Linked DNA regions of Homo sapiens: all the other regions are linked to region 1. Evidence: promoter capture Hi-C in 16 types of primary human blood cells and fetal thymus (Javierre and others, 2016). All regions are on one chromosome and are shown on one strand. The core of a region is centred on a gene start or on the middle of the fragment in contact, and the rest is flanking DNA. Distances in the headings are between cores, read along the strand shown. Region 1 holds the start of CRP (C-reactive protein). Region 2 has its middle 4.7 kb from the start of TRR-TCT4-1. Region 3 has its middle 12 kb from the start of CADM3.

Region 1 (3,604 bases), core at 606-3,105:
CACAAGGTTCGTGTGGAAAAGGGGAGGAGTTTCCCAGAAGAGCCATAAAATTAAGAAAGCACTGCAAGCAAACAAAAACCAGTCATTTAAGTTCTTGGCAGTAACAACATATTTATACCTAGTGCTTCATTTTGCTCTGGAAAAAAAGCAGATCTGCTCTGCTGGGGCAATTCTAATGGCCTTTCCAGTGTGCTTTGAGAAAGTGGAGGGACTGCGTGGTATTGCTGGGCTTCCCATTTCAGGAGACCTGGGCCCAGCAGTTCTATGACATGATGATGAGCACTCTGGACCCAAACCAGACACCTGGCCAGTGTCCTGATTCTGAGACTGAAGAGCCCTGTGAATGTGGGCAATGCCCTCCTGCTTTCTGGGGGTCATGGGTGGGGAATTAAATAGAAGATCAGCGCTTCCTTCTCAGCTCTTGCCTTATGAGTTTTTTATAACATCATTTCTCCTTTCTGGGTGTTAGTTTTCTCATCTATGTGAGGTAAGAAATTATCTCCAAGATCTGTCCAACTTGAAATAAAAATGAAAACAAAACACCTCAAATTCTGATTCTTTTGGACCGTTTCCCAGCATAGTTAACGAGCTCCCAGACCAGACACTTTACCTCCATTCTCAGGCGCTGAGGAGGGTGGAGCAGGCCTGCAATGCATATAGGGGAACAAAGGCCCAGAGACAGAGACGTGGGAACCATGCAGTGTAAAAAAGCGGGAGGTACCAGAGACAGAGACGTGGGGCCCATGCGGTGTAAAAAACCGGGAGGTACCTTCAGGACCCACAGCTGGGCCTCAGGGCCACAGCTGGGGTTTGGTGAACACTTCGCCTTGCACTTCATACTTCAGTGCCCGCCAGTTCAGGACATTAGGACTGAAGGGCCCGCCAAGATAGATGGTGTTAATCTCATCTGGTGACAGCACAAAGTCCCACATGTTCACATTTCCAATGTCTCCCACCAGGGACTGGCTTCCTTCAAAGTTCCCACCGAAGGAATCCTGCTCCTGCCCCAAGATGATGCTTGCTTCTGCCCCCACAGTGTATCCCTTCTTCAGACTCTTCCTCACCCTGGGCTTCCCATCTACCCAGAACTCCACGATCCCTGAGGCGGACTCCCAGCTTGTACAAATGTGTACTGGAGCTACTGTGACTTCAGGAACCTCGAATAATATTTCAGACCCACCCACTGTAAAACTGTATCCTATATCCTTAGACCAAAATATGAGAATCTCATTGTCTTGTCTCTTGGTGGCATACGAGAAAATACTGTACCCACGGGTCGAGGACAGTTCCGTGTAGAAGTGGAGGCACACAGTGAAGGCTTTGAGAGGCTTCGTTAACGGTGCTTTGAGGGATACATAGGAAGTATCCGACTCTTTGGGAAACACAAAAGCCTTCCTCGACATGTCTGTGAGCCAGAAAAACAAGCAAATGTGAGAGGTTTCTCAGATCACACAGATCTATCCCCTCACTTACGTATAGAATTTAAGATTGAGAAACAGACTGACCCCTTCTCCAGTTACACACCACACACACACACACACACACACACACACACACACACACCATGAAGGATGCTCCACTGTTCTGTTCATACAGTCTTTTTTTTTTTTTTTTGAGACTGTTCATGCAGTCTTAGACCCCACCCCCATACCTCAGATCAAATCTCTCCCATAGCCTGGGGTGGCCCTTACCTGTCTGGCCAAAAGCATGAGAGAGGCTGGTCAAGACCAAGAAACACAACAGCTTCTCCATGGTCACGTCCTGCTGCCAGTGATACAAGGGCCTGAATTCACTCCTTTGGAAAAGATGTATTCGGCTGAAAGTTCAGGGGCTAGAAGTCCTAGATCTCTTGCCTTAGAGCTACCTCCTCCTGCCTGGATTTATATCCAAAGCAGTAAGGGAGTTTGCGCCACTATGTAAATAATTTTCCAACATTGCTTGTTGGGGCAGGTGTCAGAGCTTCGGGAAGAGGGGAAGCAAAATTATTTCAGAACAGAGAAATCAATGTGAGTTATTTATTACAAACTCCTATGACTACTGAATTACCAATTCTTTATGACAGGAAAAATGAAGAAATCTCTCAGGGCTCCACTTTGGCTATCTATCCTGCGAAAATAATGGGAAATGGTAACATATTAAACGAGTGGCCATCTGGGTGCACGTGGTAGCTGCCTCTCCAACACCTACTTCAGCCCAAATCATAGAGTTTGACAAAGGAAATCTGACAGCTTCTGGAGATGGACATTATCACTAACCCCTTTCAATTTGCTTATTTACAGACTGGGAAATGAGGAAAACAAACATGCTCCTCCCAGAGCCATGGACACATTTTTTTATTATTATTATACTTTAAGTTTTAGGGTACATGTGCACAATGTGCAGGTTAGTTACATATGTATACATGTGCCATGCTGGTGTGCTGCACCCATTAACTCATCATTTAGCATTAGGTATATCTTCTAATGCTATCCCTCCCCCCTCCCCCCACCCCACAACAGTCCCCAGAGTGTGATGTTCCCCTTCCTGTGTCCAAGTATTCTCATTGTTCAATTCCCATCTATGAGTGAGAACACGCGGTGTTTGGTTTTTTGCATGGACACATTTTCTCAGCCAATTGAGTACACTTATTAAGAACTCTCTAGACATCTTGGCACTAAATGACGGCCCTGACAGTAAAAGTCCAGTAAAATGTGTGCCTGATCACAGACATAGCATTATATCAAAGTTTCTTCCAACATTTTTCTCTGAATATGTAAAGCTTCAGGCAGGAGTCAGGATAATCTGATTCTACTCTTTCCTCTATTCACAAGATTCAAGTAATCCCTCCACACTGTCTGTCAATCTTACTACAGTTCCCTACTTAACTCACTCTTCAAAATGACTATTATACTCCTTCTCCTTGCTCCTCAAGTCCCCAAAATCTCATTTATTCTTTCATTCAGCTGATGAACTCACCTTTCATTGAGAAGTTAGAAGCAATCAGAAAAGAACCACCGTATCCTTTGTAGTAGAGTCTTCTAGCCATTCCCTAACATCCATTCTCTACTTCTCATAAGAGAAGAATAACATTTTCAGTTGGGCGCTTGGTCATCCCCTCAAACACCAAATTTCCCAGCCCCCACTGTAGCTTGCAGTGATGATGTGATTAAATTAAGGCCAACGAGATATGAACAGAATAGGGACCATCTCTAGGTTGTGCTCTTTAAGAAAGGTATGTGCTTTCCCCTCCCACTTCCCCCTTTTTCCCTTTGACTAGTATTCAGTCATGATAGCAGGAGATGGAATAGTTCACTTTCAGGCCAGCAAGTGTAAGCTGCATGTTGAGGTTGGCATGGCAACAAGATAGATGGAGCCTGGATAATTGGGTATGGAGCCACTGCATCAGCTCTAGGCTGCCTACCTGAAAATTTACTTAAAGGAGAAATACTCTCCTCTTTTGTTAAATCACTGTTAACTCAGTCTTTCTGTTCTTAACACCTAACTGATATCCTTATATATCCTCCTACAACCCAATGTACCAGCCTTTCTGTCTTCCTCTATTAAAAGGGATGAGCTCTCCCTGTGTTACATCTAAGGCCAACCCTTGCAATTCTTCAGTGGATCC
Region 2 (3,604 bases), core at 576-3,075, 580 kb before region 1:
ATGATTATTATTCATTCAACTCTGTCAGTTTTCCCTCTATTTAACCTGTCTCTAGATTACTTTCACCTTCATCTCTGAGTGGATAATCAGGGACTACCCCTCATTTTTAATATTAATATAGTTCTGTGCTTTTATAATTTATGCATGCCAGGATCCCATATGTGGGGCATGCCAGGCATCACTTTTACTCTAATATTTGGAGCCAGATTATTATTTTTGTATTTTAAAAATGCAGACATAATGAAATAGAACCCTAAATCTAGAATGTAGCATAAAGTCTACGACTTCAGAGAAATGCTGTGCTTAGTACAGGCCACTTGAGGCCCGGCTTCCTGAACCTGGAAGTAAGCCATCACTCTCCTCAGCCATTAGAGACATGCTTAAGCACAAACCTTAAAAAGCACCGTTAGAAGTTTATACATAATAGAAAATTTTTTTAAGTTTCATGCTCCCTCAAAATAATATAACTTGTTCTAAGCAGTCGGATATTTTGGATGGTACCATTTCCTTATTTAAAAGTGGTCTATAGATGTAGCAAAGGAAGACAAGTTATCAGCAATTGTTAGTGATTGCCAGAAGATGCTCCCTTCAGATTCAGGACTGAGCTGGGTCCACAGCAAGGAATTCACCCAGAAAAAGATTTGTCCTGGAATACAACAGCCAAGCCCTCGTCTCCTGTCTCTTCCCAGCTCCCCAGGCATTTGTTTTTAGTCTAATTCCATCTCTGTAGACACCAACCTGCCTTCTCAAAATAGACACACTCGCCCTCATCCCAGGCTTTAAAGCCCGGCATTGCCCCACGCAGAGAAGTCCTAACACGACCCTTTCCACGGGGACTAGAATCTGAGGATTGTTGTAGGACTTCTCTGCTCGTAGCCCTAGAGAAAAATCTAGGCCTTTTACAGTGATCACTATGGGCAGAACGTACTCTTGGAGGGTAACTACTATTTAAAATACATTATGCATGTCTTGACTTCCACTAGGACTCCGCTTGAAGAAGAAGATGGTTAGAAACATGGGCCACAGATAAAATCTCTCAAGTCCTCACGCACAGCCTCCAAGAAACTAGCTTGATCCATACAATCTGAAGGTTTAGAAAGAATAACTACAAACAAGGAGGTTAGCATTTGTGTTTGCACCTCCTATGTATCTACCTCGACAATTTTACAGCTTACCCTATTTAATTCTAGGTATTAGTTAGATCATTTACTAGATGAGAAAATCAAGGGACTTAGACTTAGTGCATGTCTACATTCATACAAGTAAATAGCGAGACCTCAGATTCAGACTCAGATCTGTGTCATTACCATGAAGTTGCTGCTTCTACTATGCTCATGGTTATCAACTTCCCTTATCATAATACGCCATTTCTCACCATTCATTCTCTCAAAAGAATCATCACTGAACAATATTACCACCATGGAAGCAAAGAGATCCAACTAACTTCCAAGGAGCACATAGTTCAAAGATATTCTATTCCATTATAATTTATAGCAAGTACTAAGGACATAAACACTGCAATCATGTTTTCTGGGATAAGGTCTATTTGCTACAGCTTTACATATAAGCAAAATGAACATTTTTACCATTAGGTAATAACTATTGTAATGACAATAAATAAAAATAACTAGTTTAAAAATAAGTGATCTCGGCCAGGTAAGCTCTCCAGAGATGATAAATCACTTTTGTAGGTGGACTGTTACAAAACCCTCCACCTCTGGTGGTACAGCACTACGGCTTGGGAATCACCGTGCCACAGCTTGCTGCTTCTAAAGGCTTTGGGCCCAGGAGACCTCTAAACCTGCCTACATATCTGACTCTATTCTCTACCTGTCTATTCTATCTCTGTCTGTTCTCTACCAACAGATAAAATTTGCCTTTTAACATAGAAACCAGAACCTCCACTCAAACTCATCAGTGGTGCTCACTAACATTTAGAAAAGCCTCACCTCCAAGCCTTATGTCAGTGATTGCCAGTGGCACTAGAATTGCCCCTCAGAAGTGGTTTGAAAATTTGATGGAATAGTTTTTGTTGTTATAATGATTGGGGGCCACGGTTAGCTGTAGAGAGGAAGAGCATGCTGGACTTAAGAGTCCCAGAATGTGTAAGGGCATCTCTCACAAAGAGGAATTGACCCATGATGTATACTCCTGAATGACCTATTAAAACCTACGTGCTGGGGCTGGGCGTGGTGGCTCACACCTGTAATCCCAGCACTTTGGGAGGCTGAGGCGGGTGGATCACTTGATCTAAGGAGTTCAAGACCAGCCTGGCCAACATGGTGAAACCCCATCTCTACTAAAAATACAAAAATTAGCCGGGCATGTTGGTGCGCGTCTGTACTCCCAGCTACTCAGGAGGCTGAGGCAGGAGAATGGCTTGAACCCAGGAGGTGGAGGTTGCAGTGAGCTGAGATCATGCCACTGCACTCCAGCCTGGGTGACAGAGCGAGACTCCATCTCAAACAAACGAACAAAAATAAAACCTATGTGTTGGTATCTGAGCTTAGAGTCTAACTTGTTTTTATATGTTAGAGAGTTTTCTGCATGATTTAAAACTTCCTAAATTTTCCAGGAATGCAAAGTACTGCGCATTTTGCAAGAAGACTTACTTTGCTTTGATCAAAAATGTATCCAAAAGTGTTCACCAGTCTGGAAAACCAGGACGCTGCTGGTGAACGACATCCCTCATGAGATTTAAGTCAGCAGTGCAGCATGCCTGCACTGGTCTGCATATGTAGCTGTTGCGTTCAGGGTGGGTCTTCATATAGGTGCAAGGGTGCTGGTATGGCATTTATGTACTAAAATGTATACTATTTATTATAAGTTTATTTCTTTTTATTCCTCTCTTACATTACAATTAGGGTATTATATTGATTAGTTTTCATTATGGGCATGGGAAAGTTATGTTATCTATGAATTTCATTGCAGGTTAGTAGAGAAGAATTGAAGAAATAATGGACCTAACAAGGCAGAGTTGGATGTCATAGGGTTGAGAACATTGTCCTAGATGGTGTGCCCTGTATCAAACTCTAATCCCAACTCTTCCCATCACTCCCTCCCACTCCACCACACTGACCTGTCAGCTTTCCAATCAGGCTGGTGCCCACATCAGAGTCTCTGCTCTTGCTGTTTCTCTGTTTGAAATGCCCATCCCCTAAATCTCATTGCCCTCACTTCACTCAGGTCTTCACTCAAAAGCCACCTCCTCTGAGAGGTCTTCCACAACCATCATTCATCACATCACTCTCCATCCCCAAGCATCCTTTAAATTCCTCCATAGTACATATCACTACCTAAAATGCTATTAGCTATTATAATATTTATTTACCTGTCTGTCATTTGTCTTCATCATGGGAATATGTATTCCATGAAGAAGGTGGAATCTACTATTTTGGTGCCTGGAATAATGGGAAGTGGCATGAAGTGGGTGCTTGATGAATATTTGTTAAATAAGTGAATTAATGCCTGAAGATACTGTCTGTGCTCCTGCTCCCTGGAAGCTAGGAGTAATCTCTTTCTCTTTCCTATCTATATAATTTATAGTCAATTGAAGTCAGCATTAATTCTTTCAAATATATCCATCAAATGCCTACCATATTTC
Region 3 (3,604 bases), core at 401-2,900, 560 kb before region 1:
AAATGACACTGAGAACTTTAGGCTTCTTCTGCTGGTCTACTTCAAAGTGGTAGAACGTTCAACTTTCTCCAGAGCTCCAGTTTTCATATCCAGTCTATTCAATATTTCCTACTTGATGGGTTGCCCTCAGCTTAAACTCAATGTAATCTAACAAAATTGTTACAAATTGATTATGTCTCCTGCAAATTTAGATGTTAACACTCTAATCCCTCATGTATTTAGATGTGAGTCCTATGAGAGGTGATTTGGTCATGAAGGTGGAACTCTAATAAATGGAATTAGTGTCATTATAAGAAGAGACACAGGGAGACAATCTCTTTTTCCACCATGTGAAGACACATTGAGAAGGTGGCTGTCTGCAAACCACGAAGAGGACACTCAACAGGAATCAAATCCACCAGTACCTTGATCTTGGACTTCCCAGCCTCCAGAACTGTGAGAAACCAAAGTCTGTTGTTTAAGCCACATAGTTTATGGTATTCTGTTTTAGCAGCCTCAAGTAAGACACTAATCCTCCTTCATTCCAAAATACTAAACCCCACAAAAAGCTTCTCCTAATTCCACTATTTCTTTTCATGGTTCAGCATTTTCCAAGTCACTCAAAAGCCAAAACTGAGAGCTGCCTCAGCCTTCTCCCTCTGTCTTGCTTCCCATAACCAACACCAAACGTAGCACCTCTTTTCCATTCCCAATTCCACTGCCCTTGCTCAGGACTCTTTTACTTTGTTCCTGGATTTCTATAATCATCTTTTAACTCATATTCTTAGAATAAGCATTTAATTTAAAAAAAATTAATCATTCAATACATAGGCACACATTATAAAAATATGAAGTATATAATATGGACAATTATAGTCCCCCTTATGACTTAAGTCTCACTCCTGGCCCAGAAAATAATTTTCCAAGTTTAATATGCATCTGAACAATAGAAACACTCAAGTGCCTACTATGTGCCAGGCGCTATTTAAAGCAATTTAAATAGATTAATTTATTTAATTTTCACATCATACCACCCTAGGGGTCATGTAAAATTATCTCTATTTTCCACACAATGAAAAAAAATGCTGAGGCGGTTAAGTATCTTGCCTGAAGTCACACAGCCAGTAAGTAACTATTCATTTACTTAAACACATATTTATATGCATATAAGATTTTACATACACATATGTATATGTTTTATGCTTTTTTCCCATTTTACACAAAAGGGATAGCAGTATGTGTATTTTCTTTGTATTTTCACTGAACAACATACCTTCTGTATCTTTCTATGTTGGTAGATATAAATTTACCTCATTCTTTTTAACTGCAATGTGTTATTACAAAGTATGATATAGCATAATCTATTTATCCAATTCACTATTGATGAATATTTATGTTGTCTTCAATTTTTCACTACTGGAAAAAAATGATGTGATGCATATCTCTGCACATAAATCAGAGCACTCATGTGTGAACAGATCTATAGCATAATTTGTAGAAATAGCACTGCTGGTATTTCTATTTTTAATTCTGATGCATTCTGCCAAAATATCTCCAAAAAGGCTGTGCCAATTTACATCCTCCCTAACAATATATAAAGGTGCCTATTTCCCTAAGCACTTGCCAACACTGAGTATTATCCATCATTTTAATTTTTTAACAATCTGATGGGTTCTTTGATGCTTTTTAACAGTCTAGGATCTCTTTGGTGCTATAACTTGTATTTCTCAAAATCCAAATGCCGTTGATCATCTTTTCAAATGTTTATTAGACAACTGTATTTTTTTTCTGAGAATTCATACTCATATCCTTTGCCCAATTTTCTCTTGGACTGTTTGTCTTTTTTATGTTTATTTGCTGACTATTTTGCATGTTAGCAATTTTGATACTTTGGCATATATATTGCAAATAAAATCTTCCCAGTCTGTGACTTACTTTTACATTTTGTCTATGGGTCTGCAATTATATCAGTTTTAAAAATTATGCAGTAAATCTTATCGGTCCTTTCCTTTATCGACTCTAGGTGTTGTGTCTTGCTTAGGAAGGTCTTTCCCACTCTAAGATTAAGTATATTTTTCGACAGTTTTTGCAAACATTTTTAGTGTTGTTTGGTTTATAAAATTTAGCACAAGTCCACCTGAAATATATTGTCGTATATGGCATAAGGAAAGGCTAAACCTATCCCATACCAACTGACAAACAGATAACCAATTATTCTAATGTCTTTAAACAGTACAACCCTCTAGTCACTGATTAGAAGTGTAGTATATAATGAAGGTAGCACTCTTCATACACTAAATTTCCAAGTTGGTTTGTAACTACACTCTCTCTTCTGCTCCATGGTTCTATTTATGTATTCCTGTGCCAAGATTTCATGTTTTAATTGCTATAATTTTAAAGTTGCTTAGGATAGCTAGAAAATCATCCTCCCCCTTAGCCCCATGTGTTTAAAAAATTATGGCTATTTACTCTTGACTTTATCTTCCAAGGGAATGTTAGAATAGGCTAGTCAAGTTCCATAAAATATCTTATTGGAATTTAGCATAGTATTGCATCAAATTTATAAATTAAAAATTACCATCTTTACCACAATGAATCTTAGAATTAATATTTAAATACCAATTCAACAACATAACGTCCTGCTACAATTTTTTTTCCAACTGACATTGGGATAAAGATAAAGCTCTTCAGTGTCTAGTTTTCAAATCCCACCTCCCAAATTTGGTTTAAACTAGCCATCTCATCAAATTGATTTCCCTTATTTTTCATCCACAAAGCTTTTCAAACCAGTATACTGATTCTATCCTAAATAATCCTTCATTCCCTGTGCTAGAGATGCCATGCAATTAGGAAAGGGATAAAGCAGTTATATTCTTTGTCTACACATCCTCACTTTGAAGTGCTAACATTCTGGGTCTATCCAAGATCCATCATTACCCTTTAACAAGGCAAGAATAGGTATACTTTTCCTTATTAACTTAAACAGATTTGAGTTTGCAGGGGGAAAAATAGAGCTTTTTATGATTAAATAATCTACGACAATACAGTCATCCCTCAGTATCTGCTGGGGATTGGCTGCAGGACGCCCACACCCTTGCCACAGGATACCAAAATCTGCACATACTCAAGATCTACAATTGACCCTGTGAAAACAGCGGAACCAGCAGAACCAGGAAACTGGCATATAGAAAAAGTCTGCCCTCCCTATCTGCAGTTTGCCCATCCGGAGAATATTGTTTGGTTGCAGATATGGAGCCTGGAGATACAGAGGGCAAACTGTATTTATTGAAAAAAAAATCCATGTATAAGTGGATCCACACAGTTCAAATCCATGTTGTTCAAGGGTCAACTTGTTTTTTCGTCATTCATGGGAAAGAGAACTTGGTGTTGAGCAAGGAAACAGATAATGTGATCTGAAGCTTGAGGAGACCTCACTGGGTCCAAACTCTCAACATGCAGGAAAGAATTCATGCAGTCTTTGACAGATCGGTAAATATTAAAAAGAAGTGAGAAAAGGTTAGAAGAACTGAGATAACACTACCTGAGAAGAGAAGACTAAAATTAAACTGAAAAATGTTTCAAGTGTGTGTTAAAACTTGGAGGAGGTGGGAGTTGGGTCTGCCAA

What was found. The method cuts DNA at HindIII sites, captures the fragments that hold promoters and counts their contacts. A CHiCAGO score of 5 or more calls a contact.
Region 2: a contact is called between a fragment that was not itself captured here and the fragment with the promoter of CRP in region 1, in 1 of 17 cell types (erythroblasts). The highest score is 5.3, in erythroblasts.
Region 3: a fragment that was not itself captured here is called in contact with the fragment with the promoter of CRP in region 1 in 1 of 17 cell types (M2 macrophages); the score reaches 5.9 in M2 macrophages.

Annotation. Positions count from the first base shown.
Region 1 is chr1:159,712,734-159,716,337 of GRCh38, forward strand. CRP (C-reactive protein) reads right to left here and starts at 1,856. Exons shown (of 2, transcript NM_000567.3): 1 at 1,692-1,856; 2 at 1-1,405. The coding sequence starts at 1,752. The coding sequence ends at 792. The HindIII fragment of the contact is 4,063 bases long and covers 1-2,756 here.
Region 2 is chr1:159,135,194-159,138,797 of GRCh38, forward strand. It overlaps a transcript of AIM2 not described here. Among named protein-coding and RNA genes, the nearest start is that of TRR-TCT4-1, 4.7 kb to the right of the region's middle. The HindIII fragment of the contact is 4,258 bases long and covers 1-3,604 here.
Region 3 is chr1:159,157,516-159,161,119 of GRCh38, forward strand. No RefSeq gene overlaps it. Among named protein-coding and RNA genes, the nearest start is that of CADM3, 12 kb to the right of the region's middle. The HindIII fragment of the contact is 2,208 bases long and covers 547-2,754 here.